Regions from separate parts of the Homo sapiens genome. Here all the other regions are linked to region 1. Evidence: promoter capture Hi-C in human tissues and cell types (Jung and others, 2019). All regions are on one chromosome and are shown on one strand. Each heading gives the region's core, a stretch centred on a gene start or on the middle of the fragment in contact. The rest is flanking DNA. Distances are from core to core; before and after follow the strand shown. Region 1 holds the start of MRPS15 (mitochondrial ribosomal protein S15). Region 2 has its middle 21 kb from the start of CSF3R. Region 3 has its middle 38 kb from the start of CSF3R.

The links. The method cuts DNA at HindIII sites, captures the fragments that hold promoters and counts their contacts. A contact is called where the count stands out against the background at its distance.
Region 2: a contact is called between a fragment that was not itself captured here and the fragment with the promoter of MRPS15 in region 1, in 1 of the 25 tissues and cell types used here (stomach).
Region 3: a fragment that was not itself captured here is called in contact with the fragment with the promoter of MRPS15 in region 1 in 1 of the 25 tissues and cell types used here (stomach).

What each region holds. Positions count from the first base shown.
Region 1 is chr1:36,462,991-36,465,690 of GRCh38, reverse strand. MRPS15 (mitochondrial ribosomal protein S15) reads left to right here and starts at 1,307. Exons shown (of 8, transcript NM_031280.4): 1 at 1,307-1,545; 2 at 1,841-1,885. The coding sequence starts at 1,416. RefSeq lists enhancers at 494-1,395, 1,152-1,401, 801-2,000, 1,396-2,299. The HindIII fragment of the contact is 17,048 bases long and covers 1-2,700 here.
Region 2 is chr1:36,502,505-36,505,314 of GRCh38, reverse strand. No RefSeq gene overlaps it. Among named protein-coding and RNA genes, the nearest start is that of CSF3R, 21 kb to the right of the region's middle. The HindIII fragment of the contact is 8,891 bases long and covers 1-2,810 here.
Region 3 is chr1:36,519,972-36,522,671 of GRCh38, reverse strand. No RefSeq gene overlaps it. Among named protein-coding and RNA genes, the nearest start is that of CSF3R, 38 kb to the right of the region's middle. The HindIII fragment of the contact is 7,915 bases long and covers 1-2,700 here.

The DNA.
Region 1 (2,700 bases), core at 58-2,557:
GGGGAAATAAAATTAAAGACAAAATCCCCTGCCAACGCAGAAAACCTCTTCACAAGGGTAGAAAAGAAAGAAAACAGTGTTATTATTGAATAAGCATTAAACCGGAATGTGATACACTGGTGATCCACTAAAGAGACTGCAAAGAGACAAAAATCTTACTCTTTTATGTAGCAAAGTGAATACAACTTACTGTATCCATTTTCTCAAGATAAACAATAACTGGTCCTCAAGCAAGAGGACTTGGCTGCACCTCACTCTAAATTTACCTGGTAAGTGGGAAGCCACCTGTGTCTGCTAATTGCCTTTATCCAAAGGAAAAATCGATTTCCCCTATCTTTATAACAAAGGGTAGGTTGCAACTAAGAGCTAGGCACCAACTGAAGTTAGGCTCCTACCCTCCCACAGGAACTGAGAGAGAGCACTATCTTCCTTAATTATTACATTTCAAAGGGTTGGCCCCCAGGTCCTTGAGAAAAACATTCCGGGGTTGTAAAACTGGCAAGAGGTTTATTTACCTTTTAAGAAGATTTACATTCATCGCAAAGCAGTAGAGAAAGTATTCACAATTACAAGTTTTCTAAAGTAAATGCTCTCAGAAAAGTGAGGGGAAGGAGTCTTTTCCCTTTTTGCGCCAGGGAAAATTAAATTTTCTTTTTCTTCTAATTTGTATCCACCCTTACACCACTCATTTCACAAATAACGTCACCGTAAAGATTTACTAAATGCTCACTATATACCAGGTGGTCTGCATACAACTCAGTTAATCCTCTCAACAACCTAAAAGAGAGATATTGTTATTACTATCCCTACAGGGCCCACATAGGTTAAGTGACTTGCCCACAAGATCACATGTTGAGTAAATGGCTGAGTTAGGATTCCAGACCAGGACTGTGCGATTCCAAACTCAGCGACTTTAGTCTCCAGGCTACGAGGCTGCCAGAGACATGGCTGAAACCCAGTAGTAGTTCTTACACGGTCCCATCCTTGTCTAAGGGAGGGGTGAGGTGGGGTGGAGAGGGGATTGGGTTGGGGGTAGAAGGCTACCGCAGGCGCCATGGACCTCCCAAAATAACCCTGGCCCGAGGGCCAGGAATGAGATTAAGGACGGAACGCATGCCCTCCAAAAAGTGGCATTTTAGAATTTATACAGCACCCCAGCACGCTGCTAAACGTGGGCACACAACCACCACGGCCCGATCACGCGCAGCGGGAACCCGGTCTCTGAGCTCCGCCCCGTGCGTTGCGTCATCAGAGTCACGCCACCTAATCCATTCTCTCGGTCTTCGTCTGCTCCGGTATTGCAACTGCCTCGATTGGTCGATCCTGGGCCAGCATGGCGGCGCCCATGTAACCCGGTCCGTGCCGCAAAGCGAACGGCGGCCGCGGCGCGGGCCCCGCGGGGGTTAGAGGTCACCATGCTGAGGGTCGCGTGGAGGACGCTGAGTTTGATTCGGACCCGGGCAGTTACCCAGGTCCTAGTACCCGGGCTGCCGGGCGGTGGGAGCGCCAAGTTTCCTTTCAACCAGTGGGGCCTGCAGCCTCGAAGTGAGGAGCTGAGAAATGGGACGGCGGGCGTAGGGAAACAGGGTTCGGCGAAGATAGGGAATAAGGAAGCACAGGAGTAGGGGAGATATACAGCGGTCAGGATAAGGGGGAAAGGGCGGTGGTTGCGCAAGAGGTGAAACAAGATGTGAGAGACAAGGGGTAGGGAAGAAATGGGGCAGCGGTTAGGTTCAGAAGCGCATAGACCGTGGCGGACGGGCAATGCGAGGGGCACAGAAAGGAACTGAGGGGTGGGCTATTTAAGGAGATGGTCCTCAGCCCTCTCTTTTCTGCGTAGGTCTCCTCCTCCAGGCCGCGCGCGGATATGTCGTCCGGAAACCAGGTAGGAGTTCCTAAGGTGGGACTTGGGGCGGAAGAGAGACCTCCTGGAAGGCTGGGGTGGGTAAGGGGACCGATGTGGCGAATTAGAGCCACTAGATGAGGTGAGCCAGAGGTCCTGAGCAAAAGACCCCACGTCCACCTTACACAAAGCCCTAGGCCTGCAGCCTGTATGGGGACAGAGGGGTGTGAAGGGCGGGAGCAGGAGCTTTCCAGGTGAATGAGTGAAAATGAGCTTCCCAGAGGGAGTGCATGGCTGGCACCACCCAGGCCTACCTAGAGTATGGCACTTTGTGTCTGCGCTTCTGAGATGCAGGATGTAATTTCCCATTGCAACTCAGTATGCATAGTAGTTAAGATCCTTCTTATTAGGTAAATGATATGGGGCAAGGTACTTCCTCTCTCTGATTCTTATTTCTAAAATGAGTGTGAAAGTATCCATTTGCAAGGATTGTTAGGATTCAGCGATAATACACGAAAAGCACCCTTAACGCTGTGCTCAATTAAATATATTGATAGTATATATTAGAATTTATTATCTGGGGCCGGACGCGGTGGCTTACGCCTGTAATCCCAACACTTTGGGAGGCCAAGGTGGGCAGATCACTTGAGTTCAGGAGTTCGAGACCAGCCTGGCCAACATGGTGAAACCTCGTCTCTACTAAAAATACAGAAAAAAATTAGCCAGGTGTGGTAGCGCGCGCCTGTAATCCCAGCTACTCAGGAGGCTGAGGCAGGAGAATCGCTTGAACCTGGGAGGTGGAGGTTGCAGTGAGCCGATCGTGCCACTGCACTCCAGCCTGGGTGACAGAGCGAGAC
Region 2 (2,810 bases), core at 140-2,639, 40 kb before region 1:
CTCAAGATTGCCAAAGAATATACAGTTATCCCTTGGTATCCATGGGGAATTGGTTCCAGGACCTCTACAGATACCAAAATCTGTGGATATTCACGTCCCTTATCTTAAGTGACAGTGGGGTAGGCATGGTGGCTTATGCCTGTAATCCTAGCATTTTGGGAGGCCGAGGTGAAAGGATGATTGGGCTCAGGGGCTCCAGACTAGACTGGACAACATCGTGAGACCCCCATCTCTAAAAAGAAATTAGACCAGGCGCAGTGGCTCATGCCTGTAATCCCAACACTTTGGGAGGCCGAGGCGGGTGGATCAGGAGGTCAGGAGATCAAGACCATCCTGGCTAACATGGTGAAACCCCGTCTCTACTAAAAATACAAAATAAATAAATACATACATACATACATAAGAAGAAATTTAAAATTAGCTGGATGTGGTGGTGTGCACCTGTGCCCCTGTAGTCCCAGCTACTTGGGAGGCTGATGTGGGAGGATCACTTGAGCCTGGGAGGTGGAGGCTACAGTGAGCAACTGTATTGTGTCACTGCACTCCAGCATGGGAGACAGAGTGAGAGTCTGTCTCAAAACAGAACAAAACACCATAGTATTTGCATATAACATACACACACCCTCTCATATACTTTAAATTATCTCTAGGTTACTTATAATACCTAATACAATGCATACACATCACTTTGTTCTAATGGATTCAAAATAGTACTTGGCACACAGGAAAATAGTACTTGGCACACAGCAAGTTCAAGTTTTGCTTTTTGGAACTTAGCGGAATTTTTTTTCCAAGTATTTTCCATCCTCGATGGGTTAAATCCAAGATGCAGAACCCACAGATACAGAGGACCAACTATACATATAAATCCACAATTAAAAAAAAAATCACCAAACACACAAGAGGCAATTGTTAGCAGAAATAACATACAGTAGATATAGATCCCTAAGGATAACAGAAATTGTAATTATCATAATTACAGTAAATGAAATAACTATAATTGAAGATTTTAAAGAAATAAAAAATGAAATCACAAAAGTGATCAAATCACAAGAGATAATTTTTAAAAATAGATCTGGAAAAGAACAGCAGAGAACTTTTAGAAATGAAATAACTTGTTGAAACCAAAAATTCAACAAATGGGTTAAACAGCATATTAGACACAGTTGATGAGACAGAGTGAGCTGGAAGATTAATCTGAAGACATTACACAATTTTCAGCACAGAGACAAGCAAATGGACAATATGAAAGACAGGTTAAAAGCAATAGCAGGTAGAATAAAAGTCCCAGAAAGAGGATAGAGAGAGAAAGAGGGAGAGGCAATATTTGAAGAGATAATGGCTGAGAACTTTCCAGAACTGATGAAAGGCATGACTTCACAGACACTGGGAACGTAACATACATCTAACAACATAAATAAAAGGAAATTCACAGCTAATCACAGTGTGGAGAAACTGCATAACACCAAAGACAGAGATCTTAAAAGCAGCCACACAGAAAAGACATGCCACCCACAAAGGAAGGATAATTAAATGACAGCACACCTCTCAAAAGCAACAGTGAAAGCCAGAAGACAGGGACGAGCTTCAAAGTTCTGGGAGAAAATAACTGTCAACCTAGAATTGTGAACTTAGCAAAACCATCTTCCAAAGCTGACGGTGAAATGGAAACATCTGGATTTTTTTCAGAGAAAGAAAAGCAAAAAGCATTTACCAACAACAAATCTTTACTGAAGAATATGCTACAAGAAAAAGGGAAATTACCCCAGAAGGAAGGACTGGTATGCACAAAAGAATAGTAAGCAAAGAAATTGATAAACAAATAAATCTATACAAATATTATATAAAATAATGACAACAGACGGGAACAGTAAGGAAATAATTCAAAAACTGCACCAAAAAGAGAGTATGTAAACCTGTAGGGGAAGATCACAGCCAAAGGGTTCAAAGTTCAGTCTATTATTTAGGAAGGTGGTTGAGAAACTCATAATCTGAGATTTCTTTAGGTATGCAGGATAGAATTTCAAAAGCAATCAATAGAATCTATCTATTTCAACAGAAATATAGAAGCAATCTATCTATTTCAATAGAAATATACAAGTAGGGTATATAAATTCCAAATCAATAAAGGAGGTAGAAAAGCATAGAGTAAGAAAATAAACAAACTCAATAAATCCAAAGGAAGAACCAGTAGGAAGAGAAAGAATAGGGGGAGGGGGAATAGGATAAGAAAGATAACAAAAATAACTCGAGATGTATCTATAATCACAATAAACTAAAAGTCTATGTGTGCTATTTAAAATACATATTGTTAGATTGGATTTTTTAGAATCCAGCTCTATGCTGCATATGGTGGCATATCTAAAACACTGAAACATAAGGAGATAGATTGAAAGACCACACAAACACTAATCAAAAGAAAGCTGGAGGCCGAATGCAGTGGCTTACACTTGTAATCTCAGCACTTTGGGAGGATGAGGTGGGAGAATTGCTTGAGGCCAGGAGTTTGAGGTCAGCCTGGGCAACATAGCAAGACCCCCATCTCTACAATAAAAAATAATTAGCAGGCATGGTGGTGTGTGTCTATAGTTCCACCTACTCAGGAGGCTGAGGTGGAAGGGTTATTTGAGCCAAGGAGTTTGAGGCTGCAGTAAGCCATGATCACACCACTGCACTCCAGCCTGGGTGACAGAGCGAGCGAGATCCTGTCTCTAAAAAAAATTTACGACATTTTTTAAAAAAGAAAGCTGGGAGAGCTACACTAAAATCAGAAGAAAAACAGACTTTAAGATGCAAAGCATCTTAAAAGG
Region 3 (2,700 bases), core at 59-2,558, 57 kb before region 1:
GCACTTTCCACGGCACGCCACACCCTCTGTGCAGGGCCATGGTAGCCTGCCCTGCTATTTGGGGAGAATTTAACAAGGCACCCCTGGCCTAACTATTAGAATGAGGTGCCACCTGGGAGGGCACATGGCTTAACGAGCAGAAGGCACTTTTGTGATTGAAAAAAAAAGAAAAAAGTGTCCTGTCAGCCCCTAACCAGAGCCCTAAGCAGTGCCCTGACTTTGTGGAAGCTGTTACTACCTCCCTGAGATCATGGCTAATGAAGTTAGCAGGTGTGGGATTTGAACCCAGGTCTCCAGAGCTAAGGCTCATGCAGACAGCTCTGCAACCTCCAAATCTGCAGCCAGATATGCATGCATGAGTGTGCGATACACGCATAAACCAAGCGGAGGGTGCTCAGGGGCTCGGGCCTCACAGGGAGACTCGGCCCTCTCTTGAGCGGTCTCCCAATCTTAGGAGAAACATCCCCACTCAAGGGAGCCCCGGAGAGGAAGGCAGAACTCTGCCCTCTGGAGACCCAGTCTGAGGGGGGAGACAGGGCCCTGTCCTGAGAAAGCCCAGTCTGAGGGGGGAGACAGGGCCCTGTCCTGAGAGAGCCCAGTCTGAGGGAGGAGACAGGACCCTGTCGTGAGAGAGCCCAGTCTGAGGGAGGAGACAGGACCCTGTCCTGAGAGAGCCCAGTCTGAGGGGGAAGACAGGACCCTGTCCTGAGAGAGCCCAGTCTGAGGGAGGAGACAGGACCCTGTCCTGAGAGAGCCGGGTCTGAGGGGGGAGACAGGACCCCGTCCTGAGAGAGCCCAGTCTGAGAAGGGAGACAGGTCCCTGTCCTGAGAGAGCCCAGTCTGAGGGAGGAGACATGGCCCTGTCCTGAGAGAGCCCAGTCTGAGAGGGGAGACAGGGCCCTTTCCTAAGAGAGCCCAGTCTGAGGGAGGAGACAGGGCCCTGTCCTGAGAGAGCCCAGTCTGAGGAGGGAGACAGGGCCCTTTCCTGAGAGAGTCCAGTCTGAGAGGGGAGACAGGGCCCTTTCCTGAGAGATCCCAGTCTGAGGGAGGAGACAGGGCCCTGTCCTGAGACAGCCCAGTCTGAGGGGGGAGACAGGGCCCTTTCCTGAGAGAGTCCAGTCTGAGAGGGGAGACAGGGCCCTTTCCTGAGAGATCCCAGTCTGAGGGAGGAGACAGGGCCCTGTCCTGAGACAGCCCAGTCTGAGGGGGGAGACAGGACCCTGTCCTGAGAGAGCCCAGTCTGAGTGCATATGACGGGGATGGGACACAGCCCTACTCTGGGCACTCCACCTGAAGAGAGCGATGAGACAATGGTGAAGGGATGGAGCCCTGCCAGGTCCCCTCTGCCCTTCACTCCTCACAGGCTGTGGAAGCCGGTTCTCCCGAGTCTTCCAGGCTGTGGTCAGGATGAGTGTCTTCAGCCCCAGGGTCTCACAAGGGAGAGCCAGGCAGAGAGGCAGGAGCCAGCACGGGGCTGTCACTCAGCCACACAGCTCCCCAGGGAACACTTTACAGCTTCACCTATTCTGCGTCGCCTGCTTGACGGAGCATCCAAAGCAATTCCAGGACTGTATTTCATTGTCACATTTATTTGCAAGGGGTGTCAGTCAGGCCCCAGAAGCCAGCGGCCCTGCTGCTCCTTGCATTTTGTCACATGTAAACACACATAGGCCCACACTCACTGGCACCCACCTTCAGGTACACCTCGAAACACACAGAGGACACCCAGAAACACAGAGTCATTGCACACATCATGGACATGCCAACTTGGGGTCTGTGAATCAGGGCTACCACATTGCACAATTCCAGGGGGCACCATTCATATATCACTGTTATATATATGGTCATTTATATGCACACAGCATGGTTCAGAGTGTCCCTTGTGCACGCGCACAGACACAAACACACACACACACAGAAGCACACCCTCAGTCACAAACAGATTCCTAGAGAGCCACAGGCCTCAAGCTAAGGGCACCACAACCAGGTTCTTCCCAGGCAGGCTGGCGGGAGACCCACCACACTCCCAGCCTCCTGGAGCCCGTAAGATCAGGAGACAGGAGCAGGAAAAGACTGGGGAGTTCTCAGAAGCCCCTCTCCACACCCCATAAGTTTCTGGAACTGAGAAGGCCCTGCTACCCACCCCCTAACACACATACACACACAGACACGGAGCAGGAACCTCTCCAGCCTCTGAGTGGAAGCCGAACCATTAGCACTAATTACCACCCTTGTTGGGAAAGGGATTTAATTAACTCTCCGCTGGGGCTCGGAGGGGAGCCAGGGACCAAGGCAGGCCTGCTGAGGCTGGGCCTCTTCCTCCATCCTGTGGCTTTTCAGGTTTGGGGGAAGAGCCTTGGGAGAGGGGGTGGGAGGCGGTCACAGGTCTGTACATCTGAATATGTCCTGACACCCATCACACACATTCCAATTATGCATGCATGTGCACAGACACACCTGGAAGTAGCCACACACCTGTGACCCCACACTTAAAAACTGATGATGGGCTGGGGCACAGTGGCTCACGCCTGTAATCCCAGCACTTCAGGGGGCCGAGGCGGGCGAATCACATGAGGTCAGGAGTTCGTGAACAGCCTGGCCAATATGGTGAAACACCGTCTCTACTAAAAGTACAAAAATTAGCCGGGTGTGGGGATGCACGCCTATAGTCCCAGCTACTCGGGAGACTGAGGCAGGAGA